2 separate regions of the Homo sapiens genome follow, and region 2 is linked to region 1. The links are contacts of gene promoters, found by promoter capture Hi-C in human tissues and cell types (Jung and others, 2019). All regions are on one chromosome and are shown on one strand. Each heading gives the region's core, a stretch centred on a gene start or on the middle of the fragment in contact. The rest is flanking DNA. Distances are from core to core; before and after follow the strand shown. Region 1 holds the start of PLD6 (phospholipase D family member 6). Region 2 overlaps LOC105371554 (a long non-coding RNA gene).

Region 1 (5,654 bases), core at 1,102-3,601:
CAGGATGAAGACGTGGTGGCTTCCTTACCTCGAGGAGCCAGCCCTTCTTCTCACACTCTGGCCACTCCTCTGGCACGTCCTGTCGGCACAGCCCTCCAAACACATTCCTCCACACGGTGGGCAATGTAAAACCCCACCATCGCCCACACCTCCTGCCTCCGCTGGGATCCACTGCCCACCTCCCCGTCCCCTCCCCGCGGCCTGCCACCTCTGGCCACAGGGGACTTCCTGCCCTTCCTCAAAAGGAAGTCAGTCTGTGACCCAGGGCGACTGTGCTGCTGCCCCTTCCAGCCGCATGCCTCTCCCTCCGAACAGTCCACTGGTGTCAGCAAGGTCCCTGCCCTGAGTGTCACTGCCCCTGGGCAGCTGACCTGGCCCACGCCACTTCCTCCCACACCACTGCCTCCTTACCCTGCTTTATGAAGTTTTCTTGGCCCTTCTCAGTGCCCTAAATGAAATATTCATGACTTAGTTGGCATCTCCGTGGCAACCTGGCCTTGTGCCCTTGTGCCCTAGGATGTTCCAGCTCCTCACAAATACTGGCACAGAGGGGACATTCCTTGAACAGTGAATGCCACTGGACAGCCTCGAAGTCAGCGAGGATGCTGGGAGGCCATCCCAGAGGGGATCCGATGGGACCTTGGTCTAGGGGCCCTTGAAGGGTCTTCACCAACCTCAGCTTCTACGACTGTAAAAGCAACTCAAACAGAACTGTACTGTGCATGCCTGGAGGTCCCCAAACCTCCCGTTAAAATGACCAACACATGGGAGGACAGCTCTTGTGGCTGCCCCAAAGAGAAGGAGACATCCTCAATATGAAAACCACGTGCCCCACTCTGCTCCCACATGGCGTGCAACATGCCCCACACCACCCAGAGCAGGGAGGGACCCTGGCTGACTCTGGAGAGGCTGCTCTGAGGCCCAAGTCAACAAGAGGCTATGGCTGTGCAGAAGGAACAGCGCGGCGGTGACCACTGCCCAGCCTGGACAATTCCCAGGGCTCCACACATCTCTCGGTCACTGCGACCACCAGTATTATCAGATCCAACCGTTGCACGTGCAGGCGTGACTTTCTGGGTGCCTGAGTGATGGAGACAGAGACAGGCCCAAGAGTCTGTGAGTGCAGATACACAAAAGGCAACAGCAGGCTGGGCCGCCGAACTGGGCCAGGATGGACTGAGAATCCTCAGGTGGGACAAGGATCCCAATTATTCACATTTCCTGGTCCCTTCTGTCCCCACCCCATGAGAGAGGCGCCCCCGCCAGAAATATGTGTTCCCCTCCTTTTGCAGCTGGGAAAACAACCGAATGTCCTGGCGCTGCTTTCTAGAACATGTTCAGGTCTCCCAGAGCCCAGTGGCCTGAGATTCACTGGGCAGCAGGTGGCCGCCTCTCCCCAGAGCCCTTCAGTCTGGAAGTCCAAGCACAACCCTGGCGTCCAGCTCCCCTGCCACCAGGATCCAGGTTACCAGAGGCCGTCCGGGGATCTCCGGCAGCGTAGGAGGGCGGGCCCGGGCTGCAGCAGTCACGAAAACTCCGCCGGCGGCGCCCGAGGAGTTGCTAGGGGAATCTGCTCCGCCTCTAACCCGGCACACGCAGGCCCACCTGCTTCCAGCATGCCGGGACAGTTCACTGAGAGAACCGCCCCCACCGCGGAGGCACCGAGGGTCCGGCTCGCTTATGCCCACGCAGCCGGCTAGACCTTCTGTGGGGGCTCTGCTTTCTCCGCGTTACACCACCCCGACCCCACAAGGCCACGAGGAAAGTAAATGAGGCCTCAGCCCGTCCCCAGACCCCCTCCCCTAAGTGTCCACCTTTGCGCCTAGGACCCCGCGTGGGCCAAGCCGGCCTTCTCCGCTTGGACCCCGCCGGGCCTACCTGCCTTGCGCAGCAGACCGATTTGCGAGCCGTTGAGGGCCATGTAGTCGCAGTCGGTGACGACCCGCACTCGCACCCCACGCTGGTGCAGCAACTGCACGGCGCGGCCCAGCTGCGGGCTGGAGAAGGCGAACAGGCAGAGATCCAGGCTGGCGCGGGCGGCCAGCAGGGCACGCAGCAGGCGGCTTAGCGCGCTCTCGCCGTGGGGCAGGCCGCACGGGCAGCCCTCGGGGAGCTCGGCCAGCTCCGCGCCCGGAGCCCGCAGCAGGGCCTCGGTACAGGTCACCTGAGACGGGAAGAACAGCGCCTCGCGCCGCGGCCGCCGCCGCCTGGACCGCAGCCAGCGCAGCACCCAAGGCAGCGCCTCCAGAGTCAGAGCCAGGCCCACAGCCGCCGCGGCCGCCACCTGCCAACTCAACCGTCCCATGCCGCCGCTAATCCGGGACCCACAGCCACGCCGCCGCAGCGGAGTCTGCGCGCCCCCAGCCCTAGACCGCCAGGCCACGCCCCCGTCACGCGCCGCCAGCGGCCATGTGCCAGGCCACGCCCAGCCCCCCATGGCCACGCGCCAGGCCACGCCCTATCACGTCCTGCCAATTGCCACGCACCAGGCCACGCCCCCGTCACGCAGCGCCAACGGCCACGTGCCAGGCCACGTGCCAGGCCACGCCCAGCACCCATGGCCACACGCCAGGCCACGCCCCCGTCACGCCCCACCAACGGCCACGTGCAAGGTCACGCCCTCAGCCCCCGAGGGCCACGCGCTAGGCCGCGCCATGCCCCCACAACTGTCACGCACCAAGCTGAACCCACGCCTCCCATCAGCCCGCCCCCAACCCTCAACAGGTGACCACGCCTCCCTCCACGCGCCAGGCCACGCCCCCTGCCACAGACACCCTCCACCCCCCAACGCCAGGCTGTGCCCCCCATTTTCCTTCCAGCCAGGCGCTCGGCCACGCCCTCCAGGTTCCACCTCCCACCACGTGCCAAGCCACGTCCCCAAGCCCGCGCCACCAGGCAGCACCTGCACACCCGCGGGCCACGGGCCCTAGCACACCCGTCACCTGCCCAGGCCAGAGACCGCTCTCCGCGCTAGAAGCCACAGCAACCCCGGCTTTCCTCGCATGGAGCACAGCAGAGCTGCTCTGGAAATGTGGGGTCACACCTTCACTGTCTTCTCGGGAGCAGCTAGGCTGGGCTGGGGAATGACCTGGGAACACAGATAATCAGGGAATCAACACAGCTGGAGGCAGCATTGGAACCCAGCATACTGGAGGCGGTGTCGGCCCAGAGGTTTTTTCCTAGCCCAAGAGGTTTTTTCCAGCCGGCGTTGTTGGAAGGCCTGCCCTGCTTTAAGCATAAACAGAGGAAGAGACTAAGGCAGCCGAGGGCACTGGGCCGGGGGCATAGGGAAACGGGGCAATGTGGTGGTCTGGGCTGGATCCTGGAACCGAAAGAAGACATTCACGGAAAAACTGGTGAGAGCCAAATAAAGTCTGGAGCTTAATCGCATTGTACCAATGTCAGTTTCTTAGCTTTGACAAATGTATGAAAGGAATGTAAAAGGTTAACAAAGGAAGCTGCGTGGGGGTAAATGGATCTCTCTGTTCTATATTCGAAACTTTTCTGTAAAGCAAATTATTCTAAATTAAAAGTTTATTAAAATATTAAACTTGCACCTTCCATATGATCCAGCTATCCCACTCCTAGGAGAAAGGGCGGGATCCATTAACACAAGCACGTGTCCTGGCAGGCGTATGTGCCTAGAACAACCCAAAAAGGCGTCAGCAGGTAAACAGGTAAATAAGCTTTTGTATATCTGTACAAGGGAATGCTATTTAGCAATAAAATAGAATGAAGTGGCCTGGCACGGTGGTTCATGCCTGTTATCCCAGAACTTTGGGAGGCTGAGGCAGGAGGACAGCTTGAGTTCGGGAATTCGAAACCAGCTTGGCCAACATGGTGAAACACTGTCTCTACCAAAAAATACAAAAATTAGCTGAGTGCGCTGACGTGCCTGTGATCCCAGCTACTCGGGAGGCTGAGGTGGGAGAATCGCTTGAGCTCTGGAGACTAAGGTTGCAGTGAGCCAAGATCATGCCATTGCACTCCAGCCTGGGTGACACAGCAAGACCCTATCCCCCCCCCACCAAAAAAAAAAAAAAACAGTACTCACATGTGCTACGACGTGGATGAATTTCATTAATATTGAGTGGGAAAAGCCAGACAAAAAGAGTACATACTGTATGATTCCATTTACATAAAATTCTAGAAAATGCAAACTAGATTGAGGGAAAGCAGACCAGTGTAGCCTGGAGGCCAACAAAGCCACAAGGAAGTGGAGTGATGGATGTGTGCTTATCGGGTTGACTGTGGTGGTTTCACAGGTATATACATATGTCAAATTGTATGGTGTAAATAACTAAAAATGTATGTCAGTGATTATGTCAATAAAATTCTTTTTTTTTTTTTTAAGACGGAGCCTCGTTCTTTCGCCCAGGCTGGTGTGCAGTGGTGCGATCTCGGCTCACTGCAACCTCTGCCTCCGGGGTTCAAGTGAGTCTCTGCGTCAGCCTCCCGAGCAGCTGGGATTACAGGCGCCCACCACCACACCCGGCTAATTTTTGTATTTTTAGTAGAGATGGGGTTTCACCATCTTGGCCGTGCTGGTCTCGAACTCCTGACCTCGTGATCCACCTGCCTCGGCCTCCCAAAGTGCTGGGATTACAGGCGTGAGCCACCGCACCCGGCCTTCTTTTTTTTTTTTTTGAGATGAAGTCTCGCTCTGTCGCCCAGTCTGGAGTGCAGTGGCACGATCTCGGCTCACTGCAACCTTCACCTCCTGGGTTCAAGCAATTCTCCTGCCTCAGCCTCCCAAGTAGCTGGGACTACAAATGCACACCACCACATCGGCTAAATTTTTGTTTTTGTATTTTTAGTAGAGACGGGGTTTCATCGTGTTAGCTAGGATGGTCTCGATCGCCTGACCTCGTGATCAGCCTGCCTCGGCCTCCCAAAGTGCTGGAATTACAGGTGTGAGCCACCGTGCCTGGCGAATAAAATTCTTAACAAAGAAAAAGAACACTTGAGTTTAGTGCTGGCTCCCAGGCTTCCTAGCTGCATGGTCTAGGGCAAATTGATTCATCTCTTCTGAGCTTCACTTTCCTCATCTAAAACGATAATGAGAGGAGGGACTTGGAGTTGTGGAGGTATAAAGAAGGACTCAAATCCCTCCAGAGAGGGATAAACAAAAATAAAACTGGGGGAAAACAGTTTTCAAAAACAGCCACTTCAGGGCTGGAAATCTACCAAAGGCAGACAACAAAATGAGAAGCTTTATTTGATTTTTATTTATTTTTTGTCTTCCAGTTTCTATTTTTAACTTTGTCGGTATATAGTAGGTATATATATTTATCGGGTACATGAGATATTTTGGTACAGACATGCAATTTGTAATAATCACATCAGGGTAAACAGGATATCCATCACCTTAAGCATTTATCCTCTTTTGTGTTACAACATTTAGTTATTAGTTTATTTATTTATTTATTTATTTGAGACGGAGTCTTGCTCTGTTGCCCAGGCTGGAGTGCAGTGGTGCGATCTCAGCTCACTTTGCAAGCTCTGCCTCCCAGGTTCACGCCATTCTCCTGCCTCAGCCTCCCAAGTAGCTGGGACTACAGGTGCCCGCCACCACGCCCAGCTAATTTTTCGTATTTTTAGTAGAGATGGGGTTTCACTATGTTAGCCAGGATGGTCTCGATCTCCTGACCTCA
Region 2 (5,654 bases), core at 1,750-4,249, 660 kb before region 1:
GCTGGGAATCCAGGAACAAAAGAGAAAATAGTTGGGGGACGCCTCCTACTGCTTTCTTCTCCATCCTGGATTTCATACCAAAAGGAAGGAGACTAAAAGGACGCTTTTATTCTCACTTCTCTTTCTAGATGGGTAACAGACCATCTTCAACATGCACTTCTCTTGAGTGTATTTTGAAGCACTAGGACTCTTTCGACCTTGAAACTTTGAAGAAAAAGTGGCTTATTTTCTTTTGCAGTCATATCAGGCAGGCCCAGGGAAAACAGTACCCCAAAATTTAAAAAGTAACTTTCAGGGAAGTCATCTGAGGGTCCCCCTTATTTGGGGCCCCTTCAAGTTCCCTTCTCATTGCAGGACCTTTGGCAAGTAAAGGGAGACTTAGGCTGGTTTTCTGATGACCTTAATAAGTATATGGAAGCTTTCCAATATTTAACTCAGGTATGTAACCTCTCATGAAGGGATGTTATGTTGCTGCTAAGGCAAACCCTTACTGTAGGTAAAATAAGCAGCTCTGCAAGCAGAAGAAAATTTTGGAGATAAGTAATGTCTCCTATAGAAGGCCAAAAGGGAAAAGAAAAAAATAGGGAAGGCAAAGGGGAAACACCATTCCCAATAGGAAAAGAGGCAATACCTCCTGACAACCCTAATTGGAACTCCTTTCTGTGGTGTTTTTCCTTGTTTTGCAGTTTAAAATGGCTTCTCTTTTATAATGTTCTTCCAACATGGAAAAGGTTAATTTTCCAAACCTTAAAATGTTTGGCATAGAGTTGAGCTAGGGGGAAGGAAACCCAGCCCAGAAGCCTGATATGCTGGCAAAAGGGTAAAAATTTCTTACCAGTCAGGCTTTTGGCTTCTCTCTTCCTGTGGAAACCGGCAAAAGGGATAATAAAGATCATTGTTTATGTTTTCTTTAAATTTATAGTTAATGAAAAAGGATTTGTGAGGTTGGTCTTAAGCTGTAAACAATCTGCTCTTCTTTGTATGTCTTTCTGTGTGGTTCTGTTAAAGAAAAGGTATCTTAGGTCAGGATGCAGGCCCAGAAACCCATAAGCCTGCTGTTCAAACCAGCCCAGCAAAGTATCCAGTGGCAAACTTGGCTACAGGCCTCCATCTTGTTTCATGTCATGGGAACATAATCTGTAACCATGTGGCAATACTTTGTTTTTGTCTCCGCCATTTTACAATGGTGGCTGTCTTCTTGTGCTAAATCAGATAAGCCAGTTTGTCAGTCTGGGCTGTGTCAGCTGATCCATCAAGGGCAGGGTTTACAAAACATCTTAAGCACTGATCATAACAGCCGTTTAGGGAGGGTCAAAATCTTGTAGCCTCCAATTGCATGGCTCTTGGGCCATGGTTTCTAATCCTGTAGCTAGTTTCTTGGTCTGGTCCCCAGGCAAAAGGGAAGTATATCTTGAGAAGCAGCTGCTATCTTCTTTGTTTTAGACTATAAACTGTAAACCAAGCTCCTCCCCAACTTGATTCAGCCTATGCCCGGGGATGGGCAAGGACAGTTTGGGGACTGGAAACAAAATGGAGTTGTTTGGGTGAGATCTCTTCCACTGTCTCAGTCACAATTTTGCAGTGACAGTTTCAAAAGCTGCCTGTCCGGGTGGATCACGAGGTCAGGAGTTCAAGACCAGCCTAGTCAACATGACGAAACCCTGTCTCTACTAAAAAAACAAAAATTAGCCAGGCGTGGTGGCATGCACCTGTAGTCCTGGCTACTCAGGAAGCTGAGGCAGAGGAATTGCTTGAACCCAGGAGGCAGAGGTTGCAGTGAGCCAAGATCATGCTACTGCACTCCAGCCTGGGTGACAGAGCAAGACTCTGTCTCAGCAAAAAAAAAAAAAAAAAAAAAAAGCTGCCTGTCACTCCTTTAAAAATACCTTTTACACTCCTGGTTAAGTCATAACCTAATTAAAGCTCTTTAGTTTTACCTGTGAGGTTACTTATTGTAAAGTTCAAAAGCCAAAAATCTTAACTGCTTGGCATGGCTAAGGTCAAGTAACAAAGGATTTAGAAGAATTTTCTTAAAGAGTGCTCAGCTTAATTAAAAGTGGAAAATCAAGTTATAGGTATATTAAAAGGCCTTTATGTTTTTTCTTTTCTTGAATCTTGTTTTTCTGGAAAAAGGCTCATCTCAGCCGACTGAATTATTTTTCTCCATTTTTTGTCTTACTACTCTTAATGCATGTATAAAAGGCCCTAAGATAACTTCTGGTAGCATGGGACTCCTCAGGAAACACAGAGGAGGCGCCACAGACCCCGTTTTGGGAAAAAACCCTCTGTTTTCCTCATGAAACCCCAGGAATTAAAAGCAAATAATTCCCTCTCAAAATCAAAGGCTCTGTTCTGTTTTGCATTGTGTTATCTGATGGTTTTGAGTTTTGGGGGTATCAGAAATTACTTCGCATTTTTACAAGAAAGCTTTGGTGTGTAATAATCAAGTAGAAAATACACTGTAAGGGATGGCTAATAGTAGTTATAAATCAGGGATGCTCTTGGCCACCTGGAAGATAAGGAAACATCCTCACCCTGCACTGGGAGATGAGACTCCCATCAGGGATGGGCTAATTACAAAATAAGCCAATTGGCTTTGGGCTGCCTTGCAATGCAATGCATGGTAGAAGCACTACACCGTCCTCTCCCATAGTATCTATATGGTCTTTTCATAAATTAAGCATTAAAATAAAAGCATAGCAAGGAGGTCTTAAGACACTAATCTGCCCCTTAGTAAAAGGGTTATAAAAGGTTTGTAAAGATTTCACCTTGGCCGGGTGCGGTGGCTCACACCTGTAACCCCAGCACTTTGGGAGGCCGAGGCGGGCAGATCACCTGAGGTCGGGAGTTCGAGACCAGGCTGACAAACATGGAGAAGCCCCGTTTCTACTAAAAATACAAAATTAGCCAGGGGTGGTGGCACATGCCTGTAATCCCAGCTACTTGGGAGGCTGAGGCAGGAGAATCGCTTGAACCTGGGAGGCGGAGGTTGCAGTGAGCTGAGATCATGCCCTTGCACTCTAGCCTGTGCAACAAGAATGAAACTCCATCTCAAAAAAAAAAGAAAAAAAAAGATTTCACCTCATGGTCAAATTGGTTAGGATTTGATGGAATAATCTATAAGGTTTCGTGTAAACAAATTGGGGTTAACATTAATAAACTAATGCAAGGGTAAAATTTTGCTTTGAACAAGATTTTCATTTCATAATAAAGGCTAATGAAAGGATTTTGCCTTTTGAGTCATCATTTTGGCAAAATAATTTATGGCAATCTGGAAATTGTCCTTCCTGATACCTAACTTTTTGAATGGTTTAGAGGGGCCCTGAAACATTCAGAAAAGAGGTAAACAGGATTATTTGACATGTTTAGTCACATGAGATTGCCAAAATGATGTCCAATCTTATTTAAGTTATAGTTTGGTGAATAATACTAATATATGTTTCAGAATTGTATGGGATTTCTAAGATTCTAATGTCTAAGTATATGCTATCAATCATAATTAAGGGTAAAGTTATTGTAAACCATGAAGATAAATAAACTTCTTTGTCAGTCATGTTTTTAACTATCCTGAAAATTTTGTCATTCACAGACAATTGTTGTCCTGCTTTGTTCCTTTTCAAAAAATGGTTTATAATCAAGCTCTATTAAGGAGTTCAACAGGTGTTCTCAAATGCAGGTTTTTAATAGCTTTAAAGATTGTAACATTGGAATAGAGAGAGAATGTATGGGACTCACAAAGAACTAATATGTTCATAAATATCAAGCAAAACAAGAGTTAAGTAAATGGACTGCACTCAGAAAGTTAAAGCAGAGTTTTTAACTTTGCTTGGAATATTGCTGATCCTTGTTTTGTTTTTCAGAGTCAAGAAAAGTTTTAAACTATTTATGGCCTTTAATAATTGAGTAAGGTATACTCCTGTGAACAAAATTTGGAGCATATTTATTTGTCTCTGCCTGGTTCCTCTAGAATTTGGAGACTAGCTGTACTCTTAACTTAACGGCAATATAGCTCTTTGCATCAGTGCAATAAGAATCCATTTTTCTTTGTCAACAGGACACATTGGAAAAACTGGTTATTTTAACCAAGGCTTGAGGGTGTGTTTCCTTTTAAGGAATCAAGCTTGACATGCAGAGCAAATAAAAGCCCCTTGGGGAGAACTGGCCTCATACCTTGTCTGCACAGTCCCTGCACAAGATTCCTAACCTGTGGTCAGTAAAGAGTGTCACTTTCTAATAGGTCTGGGAGCTCCGAGTTTATCTTGGGGCCTCAAGAGGAGAGGATCACCCAACTCACAGGTATTTGAGGATACAAACCCATGGCTGGGCTTGGCTTTAAAAGGTCTTATCTGAGATTCCTTGTAGAACAGTTTCATCGAAGCCAATCCAAAAGGCCTGTGTAGAAATAACCTTTCTTGCTGCACTTTATGCAAACAATCAGGCCATGTATAGGACTAAAGTTTATTCTACAGACAACACACACGGGCCTATCATAATTTGTTTTTATCAAAAATGAGGACTGGAGAGAAAAACTGTGCTCCAAAGCTTATCATACATTTCTCCAAAACTTACTATACATTTCTCATTAAATCCTAGTCTCATCAATTGTTTTTAAGCTTTTTGCCTACATATTATACTAACTCTGCTTATTCCTGTGAATCAAGTGGTAATCCCCTACAGTTTGGAAGAAATAAAAAGGGATGGGTAATGTAAAAATCTGAATCAATATGCTAGTTCTGGGCAATTATCCTGCAAATTCTGCCAGTTAATGAAAGTGAGTATGATGCCCATTAACTCAGGTTTTTTTTTTTTTTTGTTTGGGAAAATAAAACCAAGGCTTCATAGACCACCAAAGGAAAATTCTGTATCTTGGCAAGTAAAATTTTACATGGAAGTTATCTACTACATCACACTTGTGGAAGTTGCTATACTCACTCTGCTATTTGCAAGAGGGTTATACGTGGTAGCACCTTCTAACTGACATATTGGACAGAGTTTCCATTGCTGTTGTATTTTGCTCAATTATTATCCTTATAGCAGGGATAATAGTTACTGACAAAAAGGAAGCATGAAAGTTTTACTATCACTGAGTCTGCTAGCACTTTTTATTGGGTTTAGTAATGATTAACACCTCTAGTAGAGGAAAATCTACAGGTACTTAAGAATGAAATCAAAATTATTAACAGGCTCAGGGAAAATGCCGGCTCCAGCCCTGGATGGCTACAATCCCTCTTTAATGAATTCCAATCTTCTTTATGGAATTGGTCAGCCCCTTTATCAAGCCCTCTCCTGCTTATATGTCTTGTATTGATATTTGGACCCTGTATACTCAGTACCATAACTCGAACTGTTTCTTCTCGCCTCAAAGCAGTCAAACTCCAAATGGTACTGCAAACTGAACCACATATGGACACGCCATTCTCCCGAGGACCCTTAAGTTGACCCTAGGAGGAGCCCTCACTGCTGTTCCCCATTTGACGCCCCTTTTCAGCAGGAAGTAGCCAGAAAGAGTCGTCGCCCAAAACCCCCTAACAGCAGATAGTGTGATATCACCACAGGGAGGAATGTGGTAGGAGTTATTAAGAAATTATTTTAGGCAGAGAGGCAAAGGGGTCCTTGGGAAGTTTTAGTTTTTTAAAGCATCTCCAGAAAAGTTT

Evidence for each region. Contacts are between HindIII fragments. The study calls those that stand out against the background at their distance.
Region 2: a contact is called between a fragment that was not itself captured here and the fragment with the promoter of PLD6 in region 1, in 1 of the 25 tissues and cell types used here (hippocampus).

The regions. Positions count from the first base shown.
Region 1 is chr17:17,203,982-17,209,635 of GRCh38, forward strand. It overlaps PLD6 (phospholipase D family member 6), which reads right to left and starts at 2,352. Exons shown (of 2, transcript NM_178836.4): 1 at 1,879-2,352. The coding sequence starts at 2,305. RefSeq lists enhancers at 1,371-1,490, 2,546-3,385 and silencers at 2,011-2,130, 2,151-2,200, 2,321-2,570, 2,611-2,660. The HindIII fragment of the contact is 14,315 bases long and covers 1-4,449 here.
Region 2 is chr17:16,540,525-16,546,178 of GRCh38, forward strand. LOC105371554 (a long non-coding RNA gene) reads left to right here. Exons shown (of 4, transcript XR_007065637.1): 4 at 129-3,562. Among named protein-coding and RNA genes, the nearest start is that of ZNF287, 26 kb to the right of the region's middle. The HindIII fragment of the contact is 3,155 bases long and covers 1,423-4,577 here.